5 separate regions of the Homo sapiens genome follow, and all the other regions are linked to region 2. The links are contacts of gene promoters, found by promoter capture Hi-C in blood cells and fetal thymus (Javierre and others, 2016). All regions are on one chromosome and are shown on one strand. Each heading gives the region's core, a stretch centred on a gene start or on the middle of the fragment in contact. The rest is flanking DNA. Distances are from core to core; before and after follow the strand shown. Region 1 holds the start of CATIP (ciliogenesis associated TTC17 interacting protein). Region 2 holds the start of ARPC2 (actin related protein 2/3 complex subunit 2). Region 3 overlaps RUFY4 (RUN and FYVE domain containing 4). Region 4 has its middle 20 kb from the start of RUFY4. Region 5 overlaps USP37 (ubiquitin specific peptidase 37).

What was found. The method cuts DNA at HindIII sites, captures the fragments that hold promoters and counts their contacts. A CHiCAGO score of 5 or more calls a contact.
Region 1: a contact is called between the fragment with the promoter of CATIP here and the fragment with the promoter of ARPC2 in region 2, in 14 of 17 cell types (total B cells, monocytes, total CD8 T cells and 11 more). The highest score is 9.3, in total B cells.
Region 3: a contact is called between a fragment that was not itself captured here and the fragment with the promoter of ARPC2 in region 2, in 1 of 17 cell types (neutrophils). The highest score is 6.9, in neutrophils.
Region 4: a fragment that was not itself captured here is called in contact with the fragment with the promoter of ARPC2 in region 2 in 1 of 17 cell types (neutrophils); the score reaches 5.0 in neutrophils.
Region 5: a fragment that was not itself captured here is called in contact with the fragment with the promoter of ARPC2 in region 2 in 3 of 17 cell types (monocytes, neutrophils and megakaryocytes); the score reaches 7.8 in monocytes.

The regions. Positions count from the first base shown.
Region 1 is chr2:218,355,477-218,358,176 of GRCh38, reverse strand. It overlaps CATIP (ciliogenesis associated TTC17 interacting protein), which reads right to left and starts at 1,320. Exons shown (of 10, transcript NM_198559.2): 1 at 1,268-1,320; 2 at 990-1,082; 3 at 443-643; 4 at 85-140. The coding sequence starts at 1,292. It overlaps CATIP-AS2 (CATIP antisense RNA 2), which reads left to right and starts at 211. Exons shown (of 4, transcript NR_125777.1): 1 at 211-263. RefSeq lists an enhancer at 914-1,425. The HindIII fragment of the contact is 20,732 bases long and covers 1-1,441 here.
Region 2 is chr2:218,215,789-218,218,488 of GRCh38, reverse strand. It overlaps ARPC2 (actin related protein 2/3 complex subunit 2), which reads right to left and starts at 1,300. Exons shown (of 11, transcript NM_152862.3): 1 at 1,235-1,300; 2 at 945-1,026. The coding sequence starts at 1,018. It overlaps LOC101928487 (a long non-coding RNA gene), which reads left to right and starts at 1,303. Exons shown (of 2, transcript XR_923908.2): 1 at 1,303-1,461; 2 at 1,638-2,388. RefSeq lists a silencer at 1,117-1,166 and an enhancer at 688-1,291. The HindIII fragment of the contact is 6,430 bases long and covers 1-2,515 here.
Region 3 is chr2:218,073,189-218,075,888 of GRCh38, reverse strand. It overlaps RUFY4 (RUN and FYVE domain containing 4), which reads right to left. Exons shown (of 13, transcript NM_198483.4): 7 at 2,503-2,646; 8 at 2,004-2,073; 9 at 149-796. Among named protein-coding and RNA genes, the nearest start is that of RUFY4, 5.3 kb to the right of the region's middle. RefSeq lists an enhancer at 1,589-1,883. The HindIII fragment of the contact is 783 bases long and covers 929-1,711 here.
Region 4 is chr2:218,048,178-218,050,877 of GRCh38, reverse strand. It overlaps a transcript of RUFY4 not described here. Among named protein-coding and RNA genes, the nearest start is that of RUFY4, 20 kb to the left of the region's middle. The HindIII fragment of the contact is 3,427 bases long and covers 1-2,700 here.
Region 5 is chr2:218,456,612-218,459,311 of GRCh38, reverse strand. It overlaps USP37 (ubiquitin specific peptidase 37), which reads left to right. Exons shown (of 26, transcript NM_020935.3): 24 at 2,151-2,220. Among named protein-coding and RNA genes, the nearest start is that of VIL1, 39 kb to the right of the region's middle. The HindIII fragment of the contact is 1,496 bases long and covers 563-2,058 here.

The sequences.
Region 1 (2,700 bases), core at 71-2,570, 140 kb before region 2:
TGGTTTGTTGTTGCTGCTGTTTTTTAAGTCAAAATCTGTCTTCTCTCCCCTGGATTGGGTCAAGGCTGGGGCCCTGGGAAGTACCTTGATGAAGTCTTGGCTGTGCTGTTCCATGAGCTCCAGCTTCTCTGAGAGATAGCCTGGGGTGCAGGGACACAGGCATTGACGTCACAGGAGATGTGGGTCAGAGGCTGAAGGAAGGGAAGGTGGTGGCGCAGCTGGAGGACTAGGTGTAATACGGTCCCAGAAAAACTACAGGATGGGTAAGATGTGCCCTCATCCCGAGTCCATGAGGAACTCGCTCATCCCTCTCCCACCCCGTGCCTTGTCCTGGTCCAAGGCAAAGCCAAGGGCTTGGTCCTGAAAAAAGATTCTAGGAATTGGTGGAGGGGAGGGTTGGAGGAAGGGGAGAGTGACGGGCATCAGGCAGTAGGAACGCTACCCAGGAGGGAATTTCCGCAGAGCATTTTGTCCAAGAAGCCTCGGCTAGAGGCATGCACGAAGAGGCAGTATGTCAGCATGCCGAGTTTTTCCTGGTATTTCCCTCTCTGCACCTCAATGGTCAGCTCTCCCTGAGGCTCCCCGGTGTCTGAGACCATGGCCAGCGTCTCAGAGAAGAACAGCATCTGTAGCTCCTCCTTGTCTGGGGTGAGGGGCCCGTGGGAACAGATAAAGCCCCTGCTCCTGGGCCCCAATCCAATCCTCTGACCCCATGACCACCAGTGTCCCCACAGTCCCCACCTGCCTCCTCATCCCACAGCCTTCCTCACTGGCACGGACAGGTGAAGACTCCTGCCCCATGTCCCCATGTCCCCGGGGGGCCTTCCCTTGAAGAATGTCAACAAACAGGCCTCAGGCCTTTTCTGAGTCCCAGGAGAATCAAGGAAGAGAGAGAGAGAGAGAGAGAGAGAGAGAGACTGGACTTTCTTCCCTCCTCTCCAGACTTGCACCCCTCCCGCACCCCCAACCCCGACACTGTCTGAGCTCACGGAGGGAGCTGAGGAAGTCGATGGCTTCAGCATTGGCCTCTGGGAGTGGCAGACACTCCGGACCCGAGGGCTGGTGGTCCTTAGCTCTGGAGCCTACAGAGGGATGAGAGGCTAAGATGGCAGACCCTGGGGAGAAGGGCAGGGGTCAGGGAGGCAAGGCAGGGTACCTCAGTCCTGGCCCCAGCACCCAAGAACAGAATCCTCTAAGACTACCCCGAGGGTGGATTGGGAAGAAAGAAGAGGATCCCCGCCTCCAGCCCCAGCAGTCCTCTTCCCACCTGTGGAGTAAACCTTGGAGGACATGCTGTGGGCCTGCCTCTACCCGGTCTGTGTCCAGCTGTCTCCATGGCAACCAGAGCTGGACAGTGCCTCTTAAAGGGCCATCAACCCACTTTACTACACCCAGACCTTGGAGGGAACTGACACTGCAGGTTTGGGGCTCAGCACAAGCTTGAGGTGTTGTCCAGCAGAGGGAGCATTTGATATATATTTTTTTCTTTTTTGAGACGCAATCTCGCTCTGTCACCCAGGCTGGAGTGCAGTGGCGCATTCTCATCTCACTGCAACCTCTGCCTCCCGGGTTCAAGCAATTCTTCTTGAGGTCTCAGCCTCCCGAGTAGCTGGGACTACAGGCGCACACCACCGCGCCCAGCTAATTTTTGTATTTTTAGTAGAGATGGGGTTTCACCATATTGGCCAGGCTGGTCTTGAATTCCTGAGCTCGTGATCCTCCTGCCTCAGCCTCCCAGAGTGCTGGGATTACAGGTGTGAGCCACCGCGCCTGGCCCACATTTGATATTCTTAAGAGGCAGAGTGAAGAAATGGGTCATTAGAATGACCTTAGAAGAGGCCAGGTGTGGTGGCTCACACCTGTAATCCCAGCACTTTGGGAGTCCCAGGCAGGTGGATCACTTGAGGCCAGGAGTTTGAGATCCAGCCTGGCCAACATGGTGAAACCCATCTCTACTAAAAATACAAAAATTACCAGGGAGTGGTGGCACATGCCTGTAATCTGTCTCAAAAAAAAAAAAATGACCTTAGAAGATATGAACGAAAGTCAGACAGAGTCTCAAATGCACACTATCCAATTAGCTGCTACATGAATATCTCTGCAAGTTACAGTTCTAATACATGTAACAATAATGATAACAACAATGACAACATAGCAAACTCTTTGACTGGACTTATTCCTGGTGAGGCGCTTTTTTTTTTTTTTTTAGAGAGTCTCACTCTGTTGCCAGTCTGGAGTGCAGTGGCGCCATCTTGGCTCACTGCAACCTCTGCCTCCTGGGTTCAAGTGATTCTCCTACCTCAGCCTCCTGAGTAGCTGGAACTACAGGAGTGTGCCACCATGCCCAGCTAATTTTTGTATTTTTATTTTTATTATTTTTATTTATTTATTTGTTTGTTTTAATTATTTTTGAGAAAGAGTCTCACTCTGTCACCCAGGCTAGAATGCAGTGGCATGATCTCAGCTGCAACCTCCTCCTGCCAGGTTCAAGTGATTCTCCTGCCTCAGTCTCCCAAGTAGCTGGGACTACAGGCACCCGCCACCACACCTGGCTAATTTTTGTATTTTTAGTAGAGATGGGGTTTCACCATGTTGGCCAGGCTGGTCTTGAACTCCTGAGCTCAAGTGATCCACCTGTAGAGTCCAGCCCTACGGGGCTTAGCGGGTGTTCTCCCTGTGTGTGGAGACGAGAGATTGTAA
Region 2 (2,700 bases), core at 51-2,550:
TACTAGAAAAGCAAAGCAGCTTTGGAGGAGCAGATTGTCTTCTACTGATTCTTGTGTTTGGCAGAGAGGCTGCCTTGGAAAGATGCCCTAAGCCCATCTTTTAAAAAGTCCAATCGTAAAGACAGGTTATCTAAGAACTTTATAGATTCTGGAGTCTTTGAAGTGTGTAACTGGGCCAGGGCTACCACAGAAGAAATCACAGACCTAGGGTCTTGATGTAAGAATTTACAAGATAACCAGATAAAGGCTAGTGGGTGAGGAGAGAGCATTAGAACCTCAAAGGAGAGATAAGGAAGGGGTGTGGAGCGAGGGACAATTGGCTTTGCTTTAAAAATATGTAACAAAATGGCCCAGTGTCTCTCACAGAAGGGTTCGGGGAAGGGAAACCAGAGATCGCGTTTTTCCGGCTCTAAGACTGGGTCGGCTTTTAGTCTTCTCTTCTGCTCCTTTTAAAGGAGATGGGGGTGGGGAACGAGAATGCTGGTGGCGATGTGGGCCTGCATCTCCTTCCCTCCTCCAGTCCTGGGAATTCCTGAAAACTCCTTCCAACCCAATTCCAAACAGGCTCTCTCTGGGTTCAGAACAATGCCGGGGAATTTCACGCAGGGAAGGGGTCCCCTTCTCGCCCCAGAGGGCAGGGGGCTACTCCGGAGCGAGTTCCGGCTCCAGGGTCCCCCACGTCCCACAGGTCTCCTGCCCTTTGGCACGCACAGCCCTCACCACTCGCTGCTTCCGCATCCCTCCTCTGAGCCTCTCCCCACGCATCTCTGCCCCTCGCCCGGCCGCGCCCAATCGCCTCCCACGTCTACCCCGCTGGGGCAGCCCCTACACCCTGCCAGGCACCCCATTTCTCTCCTCCAGGTCTGGGGGACTGGACAACATTGGGGATTAGCTGGGGTCAACTCTGCTTCCCCCGCCACCCCCGGCCCCGGGCGCGCGCTCACCCGGCGGCCGCGTTCTCGAACTTGAGCGCGAGCGTCTCCTCGATGATGCGGTTGTTCACCTCCAGCAGGATCATGGCGGCGGCTGCCCCCAGGGGAAGGAGAAACAAGGGCCGGTGAGGGTGGGTAAGGGAGGCAAGGACGGAGGGAGCGGCCCTGCTGCCCCCTGAGTGGGGCTGGGTGGGGTAGGAGGTTAGGGGAGAAGGGGAGAGGGGCCGGGGTGGAGGGAAGGGTAAGACGAACGCGCTGGCCCACGCACGCAGACTGTGGAGACACCCACCCACCCAACCGACCTGGCCCCCGAAGCCTGAACCCGCCTGCCGAGCCGCCGCCGCCGCCGCCACTGCCGCTTCACCGACAAGCCCGGTCCCCGCCCAGCCCCCGGCTCTAGCCGGCCACTTCCGCTCTCACACCCACTTCCGCTCGCCGCCTGGACGCGCGGCCCCGCGGCGCCATTTCCGCTTCAACCACTCGTGAACGCGAGCGCAGGCGCGCCGGAGGAAACGGAGGCTGCGCTTGCGTATGTGTGATGCCGCCGCCCCACCGTCTACTTTCCCACCGACCCCGCTTACGTCTACCGCCTACCAGTGCGTCCCCCGCGGAGCTGTCATTCCCCGAGGCTTGCCTGACTGTTCAGCTTCTCTCTCCCGCTTGTCCCAGAGATCCAACTCCATTCTTCCGGTCTTGTCATTTCAGAAACCTCGCAAGAAGCTCGCCCTTGTCGTCTCCCAGCGGGCTTCTTAGCTCCCAGCTTGTTTGATGGGGGTGCCTCTTTTTCTTTCCAGGTATAGCTGTCCAGCGACACCATCATGCATTCATTTCTCCAACAAACATTTTCATGGGCTCTTGCTCTATACTGGGGATGTAGTGGTAAATGAAATGGACGAGGCCCTGCCCTCGTGGAACTTACAGTCTGGCAAAGGAAACAGACAATAAAATTCTCAGTTGTCTAAGGAGGCAGAGATGCATGGGGAGAGGATCAGAGTAGGGATGCGGAAGCAGCGAGTGGTCAGGAGTGTGCGTGCCAAAAGGCAGGAGACCTGTGGGACGTGGGGGCAGCTGGGGCCGGAACTTGCGCTGGAGGAACACCCCTTGCCTGCTGGGGCGAGAAGAGGACCCTTTCCTTGGGTGAAATTCCCCATATTGTTAAAAGGACAATTAAAGAAATGAAAGAGAGGTCACCTGGGTGAATAGGCAACTTAGATGGGCCTCCCTGTGTTCCTGTCATGCCTCCAATTCTGCGTCCAGGTGTCCGGAACACATTTTTTTCTGCCTTTGAAACCTTCCAGTACCTCTGGCAGAGATATACCATACCCTCCTTGTTACCTGCGTGCGGAATCTTAACTCATCGTTGTGCTACATCTGCACCTTCTGCCTTTGTGCCTTGTTTTGTGTTTTCCCTCCTCCGGGGAGAATATAATAAACTTAGCTGAGTCCGTTCTACATACAAGGAAATAATTTATTTTCTGCTATGTGTTTGGGGATGGGGATAAAAAAATGAACAAGAAACTAGCTCCTATCATTAAGGCACAGATAGCCCTTTGAAACATTACTTAACGGGCTATGGATAAGCTTCAGGATATTGCTGATCCCCTAAAATTATACGCTAACTTAAATTTTTTTTTTTTTGAGACAGAGTCTTGCACTCTTGCCCAGGCTGGAGTGCAATGGCATGATCTCGGCTCACTGCAACCTCTGCCTCCCCGGTTCAAGCGATTCTCCTGCCTCAGCCTCCCAAATAGCTGGGATTAAAGGTGCC
Region 3 (2,700 bases), core at 71-2,570, 140 kb after region 2:
CAAAGGCATCCCCAAATAATAATCCTGAGTGGGCCAATAAAAATTGACCCGTGGGAGGGAATGGTCCCAGGCTACCATTGCAGACCCTCATCTGTGGGCCAGGTCAGACAGGGGCAAATAACCAGGTATGGAGCTCAACTGTTCTCACCTTGATCTCGTCCTGCAGGGACACCTCGGCTTGCTCCTCCCTTCTGGCCACAAGGGTCACTTCTGTTTGCACTTGTGGATTCTCCACGGTAGAGTCTTCCTTTGTTGCGTGTCCCTGAAGGACCCAGGGCTCCCCCAGGATGCTAGAGCCCCCCGACCCCTGCCTGCTCCCTGATACTGCTCCCTCTACAGCCCCTCTGGGGCTGGGCATCAGCAGCCTCTGGACGTGACTCCACTCTGCTTCCTTTTTGTGAGTCCCCTCTGTTGTTCTCTGACCCTCTGCAACCAGCAGAACCCCTGTGACCTCAGCCTCCATCCCTATCACCTCCTTCTGAGTGCCCATAGCCCCCTTCCCCTGTCCCTGGGTGCTGGGTGTTGAGTTCCCCAGGAAGATCTCAATCCATGGGGCTCTTTCCTCCTGGTCTAGCTGAAGCTCCTTCCCTTCTGGCTCCCACATGCTCTGGGGGTACCTATGTTTCCTGGAACTTTCCCCCTTCTTTTCCAAAAAGAAAGGAAGATGCCTTTGTTGCTGGGACCTGGGAAGCCCTGCCAGCTGCTGTCCACTGGGTGCATCTTGCAGACAGATGGCTTGACTGGTGTGTGAGTCCTCAATCTGGACATTTTCAGGCCCTCCATATGCGGCTGGGATCTGTGGAGAGGACCCAAAACCAGTCATCCCTCTCAGCACCAATTCACTGACCTGGTGCCATTAGATTAGGCCACAGTGCTAATCTAATCAGCTTGCTAAATAGATAGGTACCAGGTCCTCTCACTGGAAGCTTTGATTTATCAAACCCCAAATCTGACTTTTAGCAACACCCAGGTGATCTGAGCGCCATGCTTTGGTCTGGTGAGGGACATCCTGATGTCCTTCTGTCCCTTCCCGCAGCCCACATCCTTCTCCCTCCTGCACCTGGGTCTTGGGTATTGATCTGGTTCCCCCTAAGTTCCTCTCACTCCTTTCCTTTAATTTTTCCTCCCGAACTACATGTCATGTTTCAGTTTTTTCATCTGCAAAATGGGAATGATAATACCCGGTTTTAGGGTTGTGATGAAATCTCGACTAGACCGACACTCAGCTAAGAGCAACCTCTCAAGAAGCCTCTGTGCTCCCATGTTCCTCTGTTCATTTCTGTGTCACTTACACTGAAATTGTATATTGCAATGCTTTTTTTTATGGTATATCTCCATGAAGAGACCCTGAACTTTTCGGACCAGAGAACTAATAGTATCTGTACCCAGTGCCTGGAAGCTGGTGGGGGTGCAAAATGTGCTTGGGGGATGATGATAACAACGACGGTGACCACACACTGTCATGCGGGGAGCGTGTAGCCAGGAGCCCTGTGCAGTGCTGGATGTGAGTTGTGTCCGTTCATCCTCACAATATCCCTATGGGGCAGGACAAGTAACTTGTTCAAGAACCACAGTTTGTAAGGGGTGGGGCTGGAATTCAACCGGGCAACCTGGGTCTTTAGTCACTTCTTGAACTGAACTGAGTCATGTGTCAATTGTCCAGTGCAGGGGACTCAGCAGAGGGTGTCCCTCTCATCTGTTTCCTGAAGCTTTCAGTGGCCCGCCCCTCATAGCACTTTCTCCTTGTCTGGGCCCAGTGGCTCCGGCAGAGGGTGCTAGAGTTCCCTTTCTCTCCCAGTGTCCCCGCCACCCCAGGAATAGGAGCCCTCTCCTCCTCTGCAGCTCCCCAGTCCCCTGCTCCACACACTGGCCTCTTGCTCTGTCTGTCCTGTAGGGTCAGGGCTCTCTGTACACTCGGAGGGGGAAGCTCAGTTTCTACTCAACTTGAGGATGCCAAGGAGATGGGGAAGAGGCAACTCAGAGTGAAGGCAGGGCAGAGGCACCTTCTTTGGGGCATCTTTGTTTTTTCTGGGTCTCCTTCCCTGGGTTTGGGTGGAACTGGAGCAGCGTGACCTGAAAGTGAAAGAGGCAGGGGGACCCTGGGCCTCTCTTCAGTGTTGGGCTTGGTCCTCAGATGGAGGGTATCCCATCTTTCCACTAGCGCATTCATCCCATGACACTTCCTCCTTCCTGCCCACCCACCCTCATGCATCCCATCCTCCATTCATCCGTACTTTCCCTCCTAGCATCCAGCTATCCATTCATCCTCCAGCCCTCCACCTCAACCACCCAGGAAGTCGTTAGTGAGTGCATATTCTAGGCAGCATTATGCCATGAATTTGCACTGGGAGCATCGAGGGCTAGAAGAATCCAAAGGCATGGAGCAAAAGGAGGCAGAGACAGATGGGGCTGGAGGCTGAGGGCTTGGGGCTTGCCTGGGACCCTTGGTGGCCATGGGACCAGGTGTCAAAAGAGACTTCTCTCCTGGCTGCACCCACTCACTCTGAGAACATGGGCCAGGCTCCATCCAGGTCTGGCTGCTGGAGGTCCAACTCGAAGGCCACCCCATTGAGAGCATAGAGAGAGTCCAGGATGTCTTCTTGGCGTTCTGGGCAGAGCAGAGGGCTCCGGGGTCCATACCATTCCCTGTGTTAACAGTGATCAGAACCCTTGGCCTTTGACCCTGGTGCTGTTTCCCCC
Region 4 (2,700 bases), core at 131-2,630, 170 kb after region 2:
CTGAGATATTAGAGCAGGTCATTATTTTAAGTCTTTTTCCTGTCAAAGAAAATCACTAAAGGTTAAATTGTGTTTGATATACAGAAAACAATGGTCATTGCATGTACTCTCATCTGTACATTTGTTCTTAGGTCAAACTCATACTTTTATGATCTTAAAACATCTAGCAGAGACAAATATAACACTGTCTGGCTACCAAACCCAGGCCAAAAAAAATGTGTGGTAATACAGAGAAAGATGTGAATATCCAGCTATAAGAAGGTCATAGAACATGAAATGCTGTGGATTTTGTAGTTTGGCGAGTAGGAGGGAGTGGCACTCAGTGGCTTCTTTCACTCTTGCAGTTCTGTGAGCTGGAGGGAGGGTTATAGCTCTTATTCCCACCTCCCACAGTTTGGTGAGCTAGCCAGGAGTGTCACAGCTCTTTTGCTCCTGCAGTTCGGCAAGTGGAAGGGAGGGTTACAGCTCTTTCACCCCTGTAATCTGTAGCTCATCAAGCCAGCCAGGAGCATCACAGCTCCTTCACTCCTGCCTACTGTAGCTTGGTGAGTTCCGGGTTCTTGTCCTGTGATCAAGAGGAATAAGATATGTGGACACTGGAGAGTGAGTAAGGCGGAGAAGAATTTTATTGAGTGACAGAAGAAAAGCTCTCAGCTGCAGGAGCGGACACTGAAAGTGGGGTAGCCATCTGTGAGGCTGAGTCTGGGATTTTTATGGGCTAAAAATGGAGGAATACTTGCTGACTGGTCCATGGGTGGCTTTGGAAAAAACACCTTTGATTGGTTAAAAGACATCATCCAGAAGTAGCCAATCAAGAGAGAGTGGGTGAGATGAGGATAGAAGTTCTCACTCCAGTCATGGACTCTATCTAGAACTAGCAGCTGGGTTTTCAGGCTTTAAACTGTCCTTGATTTGAAGGTCAGGTTTCACCAGGGACCCATCCCTGTCTGACTAGGAATTTGTCTGTCTCCTGTCACTATCACAAGCAGATTCAATTCAAATAAGATTATCTCAAGGCATCTATTCATCAAACTCAAAGATAAAGAAGGTCAAAGATAAAGAAAGGACCTAGCTGGGCACGGTGGCTCACGCCTGTAATCTCAGCACTTTGGGAGGCTGAGGCGGGTGGATCACCTGAGGTCAGGAGTTCAAGACCAGCCTGACCAACAGGGAGAAACCCCGTCACTACTAAAAATACAAAAAATTAGCCAGCTGTGGTGGCGCATGCCTGTAATCCCAGCTACTTGGGAGGCTGAGGCAGGAGAATTGCCTGAACCTGGGAGGCAGAGGCTGCGGTGAGCTGAGTTCATGCCATTGCACTCCAGCCTGGGCAACAAGAGTGAAACTCCATCTAAAAAAAAAAAAAGACCTAAAACAGCAAGAAAAAAAGAAGTCAATTAAATATGAAGGGGCTCCAATACATCTGGCAGCAGACTTCTTAGTGGAAACTCTACTGGCCAGGAGAGTGAGATGATATATTCAAAGTGCTGAAGGAAAAACTTTCAACCTCAAATATCATATTCAGCAAAATTATCCTTCAAAGATGAAGGAGACATAGAGACTTTCCCAGGCAAAAACACCTGCCAACTCTGGACATGATCCACAAGTGAGCTGCCTGCCCCAGGCCATGGGAAAAAGAAGGTCATTTGAGGAACATTCTAGAATCCCAAGCCTGAGTATCAGATGATGAGGTCCCAAACCTGCCATTTGGAATGGTGTGGAAACTCAGGGCCAAGAAATTTAGCAACAACAAAAAATGCTGTGAACCATATGACCCAGTAGTGCCCCAGCCAGTACAGCCATGAAACTTCCCCCATGTAGATTTCTTTGTAATCAAGGGCAAATGCAAGATTACATGAAAATATGCTCTTCGAAAGATAAATTCATGATTAAATATTACAAAGAACTAACAACCACCAGAATCAACAATCAGCCAACTTAACCCATGGGAGATTTAACAACTGAGGACTAGAGATAACAGAGCAATCTGAATGTGATTTTTAAAATAAGCATGTTTTAAAAATCCAGAGGCGTTTTATATTAAGAATGGAGAATTTAATGAACATGTTTACCTCTGTTTCCTCTCAAAAATCCACTAAAAATGACACTAAAGGGATTTTTTTTAAAAGGCATAATCCTACAAGGTACAAGGATTAAGAGAAAGTGAAGAAAAGATAACCGATTAAAAAAATAGAAATCAGAAGTAGATGGATAAGTGGTAACTGAGTTTATTAGACCAAAAATAAAGAGAGACAATAAAGGGAATCAAATAAATCTTTACAAAAACCATAATATCTTCAGAAACATAAGAAACACTATAAAAACCCTGGAAAACAACCTAGGAAATACCATTCTGGGTATAGGAATGAGCAAAGATTTCATGATGAAAACACAAAAAGCAACGGCAACAAAAGCAAAAATTGACAAATGGGATCTAATTAAACTAAAGAGTTTCTGCACAGCAAATGAAACTATCAACAGGGTGAACAGACAACCTGCAGGATGGGAGAAGATTTTTGCAAACTATGCATCTGACGAAGGTCTAATATCCAGCATCTATAAAAAACTTAAACAAATTTACAAGAAAAAGCAACCCCACTAAAAAGTGGGCAAAGGACATGAACACTTTTCAAAAGGAGACATACATGTGGTCAGCAATCGTGTAAAAAAAGCTCAATATCACTGATCATTAGAGAAATT
Region 5 (2,700 bases), core at 61-2,560, 240 kb before region 2:
AATCACCTGAACCTGGGAAGAGGAGGAGGTTGCAGTGAGCCAAGATTATGCCATTGTACTCCAGCCTGGGCAACAAGAGCGAAACTCCATCTCGGGGGGAAAAAATTACCTTTAGTTACACTGAATAACTGTATCATCTTTATAATTAAATACCAAAAACGGTTGTTCCTCACTGAAAACTATTGAATTGGTGATGTTAATTAGGGCACATTGAACTGTTTTTTTTTTTTTAACCCTTTTTCCCCCCTTAAATAATTGCTTTTTCTCCTCAAATTTTGATTATCCAGGATCCTACCATCCTAACACAATTACTCTCAGCACTTTGACATATTTCTTTGTTATTCTCACCTCCATGTATACTTTTTAAAAAGTCGTAAGTATAGTTTTTATTTCATTTGCTTTTTTGTTCTAGAGACAGAGTCTCACTGTGTTGCCCAGGCTGGCTTCAGACTCCTGGGCTCAAGGGATTTTCCTGCCTCAGCCTTCCAAATGGCTGGAACTAGAGGCACACACTGCCACACCCAGGTTATCCTGTTTCTTAAAGAGTAGTTATTTATAAGCTTATGTTTAATGGCTGTACTATATTGCCTCAAATAAATATCCTACTTATTTAACTTTTAGCTAACATTGAGTATTTGTCTAAGTTGTTTTTAATTTTTCACTATGATAATAAGTTGGGAAACTGTATGCTTATAGCATTTTCCTTATTTTATTTTATTTTATTTTTTAATTTTTTTGAGACAGAGTCTCGCTCTGTCACCCAGGCTGGAGTGCAGTGACACGATCTCAGCTCACTGCAACTTCCTCCACTTCCTGGGCTCAAGCGATTCTTGTGCCTCAGCCACCTGAGTAGCTGGGATTGCAGGCATGAGCCACTATGCCCAGCTAATTTTTGTATTTTTAGTAGAGATGCAATTTCACCATGTTGGCTAGGCCAGTCTCAAATTCTTGGCCTTGAGGGATCCACCCATCTCTGCCTCCCAAAGTATGGGGATTACAGGCCTGAGCCACTGCACCTGGCCAAACATAGAGTTGTTTTTTTTTTTTTTTTTTTTTTTAGGCAAGGTCTGTCTGTCACCCAGGCTGGAGTGCAGTGGCGTGTGCTCTTGGCTCATGCATTTTCTATATTTTAGAATTTCTCCTTTTATATTCTCCAGAAGTAAATTACTAAATCGAAGTTTATGAACATTTTAAGTTTCTGGTTTACATATAGCCATATTCCTTCCCCCAATTTTTTTTTTCTTTTCTTTTCTTTTCTTTTTTTTTTTTTTTGAGACAGAGTCTTGCTCTGTCGCCCAGGCTGGAGTGCAGTGGCCCGATCTCAGCTCACTGCAAGCTCCACCTCCTGGATTCATGCCATTCTCCTGCCTCAGCCTCCCGAGCAGCTGGGACTACAGGCGCCCGCCAGCTAATTTTTTGTGTTTTTTTAGTAGAGACAGGGTTTCACTGTGTTAGGCAGGATGGTCTCAATCTCCTGACCTCGTGATCTGCCCACCTTGGCCTCCCAAAGTGCTGGGATTACAGGCGTGAGCCACCACGCCTGGCCTTCCTTCCCCAAATTTTACCTTATAGTGCTGTCTGCAGTGCATGAATATCACTTTTTCAGTTTTGCTTTATTTTACCAAAAATATTTTAATCATATTTTTTAAAATATAAAAGTTCACTCTGATCCCTACAGCAACATAGCAACTCTTTTTAACATTTTTGTTCTATTGTCCAATGCCTAACTCTTAACGTAACATTTTTTTAATAGAGTTATAGTTACTATGTGCATTCATATGGGTTTGGAAAAAAGGTTAACATGTTCCTGATCCATGTAGTTTTTTTATATAACTGAACATTATTATATTGAATTGATATACTAACCAGTTAGCTATTATTGGATATATTGTTGGTTCCAGCTTTTCACCAGATAATGCCACAGTAAATAATTTGATACATATACTCTTCTTTTGACTTATTTCCTTAGAATAAATTCTTAGTTGAGGGTGGAATTCTTGGGTCAAAGGGTATGAACAGATTTTTTAATTGATTCTTACTATGCCACATACCAAAGCTTAGCCATGTCAGCTTTGATAATAAATTTATATTCAGTGTTTTGCTTTTATTCAAATGAAGACTTAAAAGTTATACCCACTTCTGTTTTCCAGACAGGAAATCTGCCTCATTCGTACCGGCTCATCAGTGTTGTCAGTCACATTGGTAGCACTTCTTCTTCAGGTGAATAGCCATCATGATTTCAGCATTTTATAAATGAACTAGTCAGCATTTGCTCTTTATTATATTGCTCTTTGCCTAGCTTTGTGAAGTGTGTTTTTCTTTTTCTTTTTCTTTTTTTTTTTGAGATCCAGTCTCACTCTGTTGCCCAGGATGGAGTGTAGTGGCACAATCTCGGCTCACTGCAGCCTCCACCTCCTGGGTCCAAGTGATTCTGCTGTCTCAGCCTCCCAAGTAGCTGGGATTACAGGCATGCACCACCACGCCCAGCTAATTTTTGCATTTTTAGTAGAGATGGGGTTTCACCATATTGGCCAGGCTGGTCTTGAACTCCTGGGATCAAGAGATCCACCCACCTTGGCCTCCCAAAGTGCTGGGATTACAGACGTGAGCGACCATGCCCAGCCCACGAAGTATAAGTTTTTCAAGAAAATCTTTGAAATCTACTTTGATCACACTCAATGTGCATTGTGTTAATAGGTG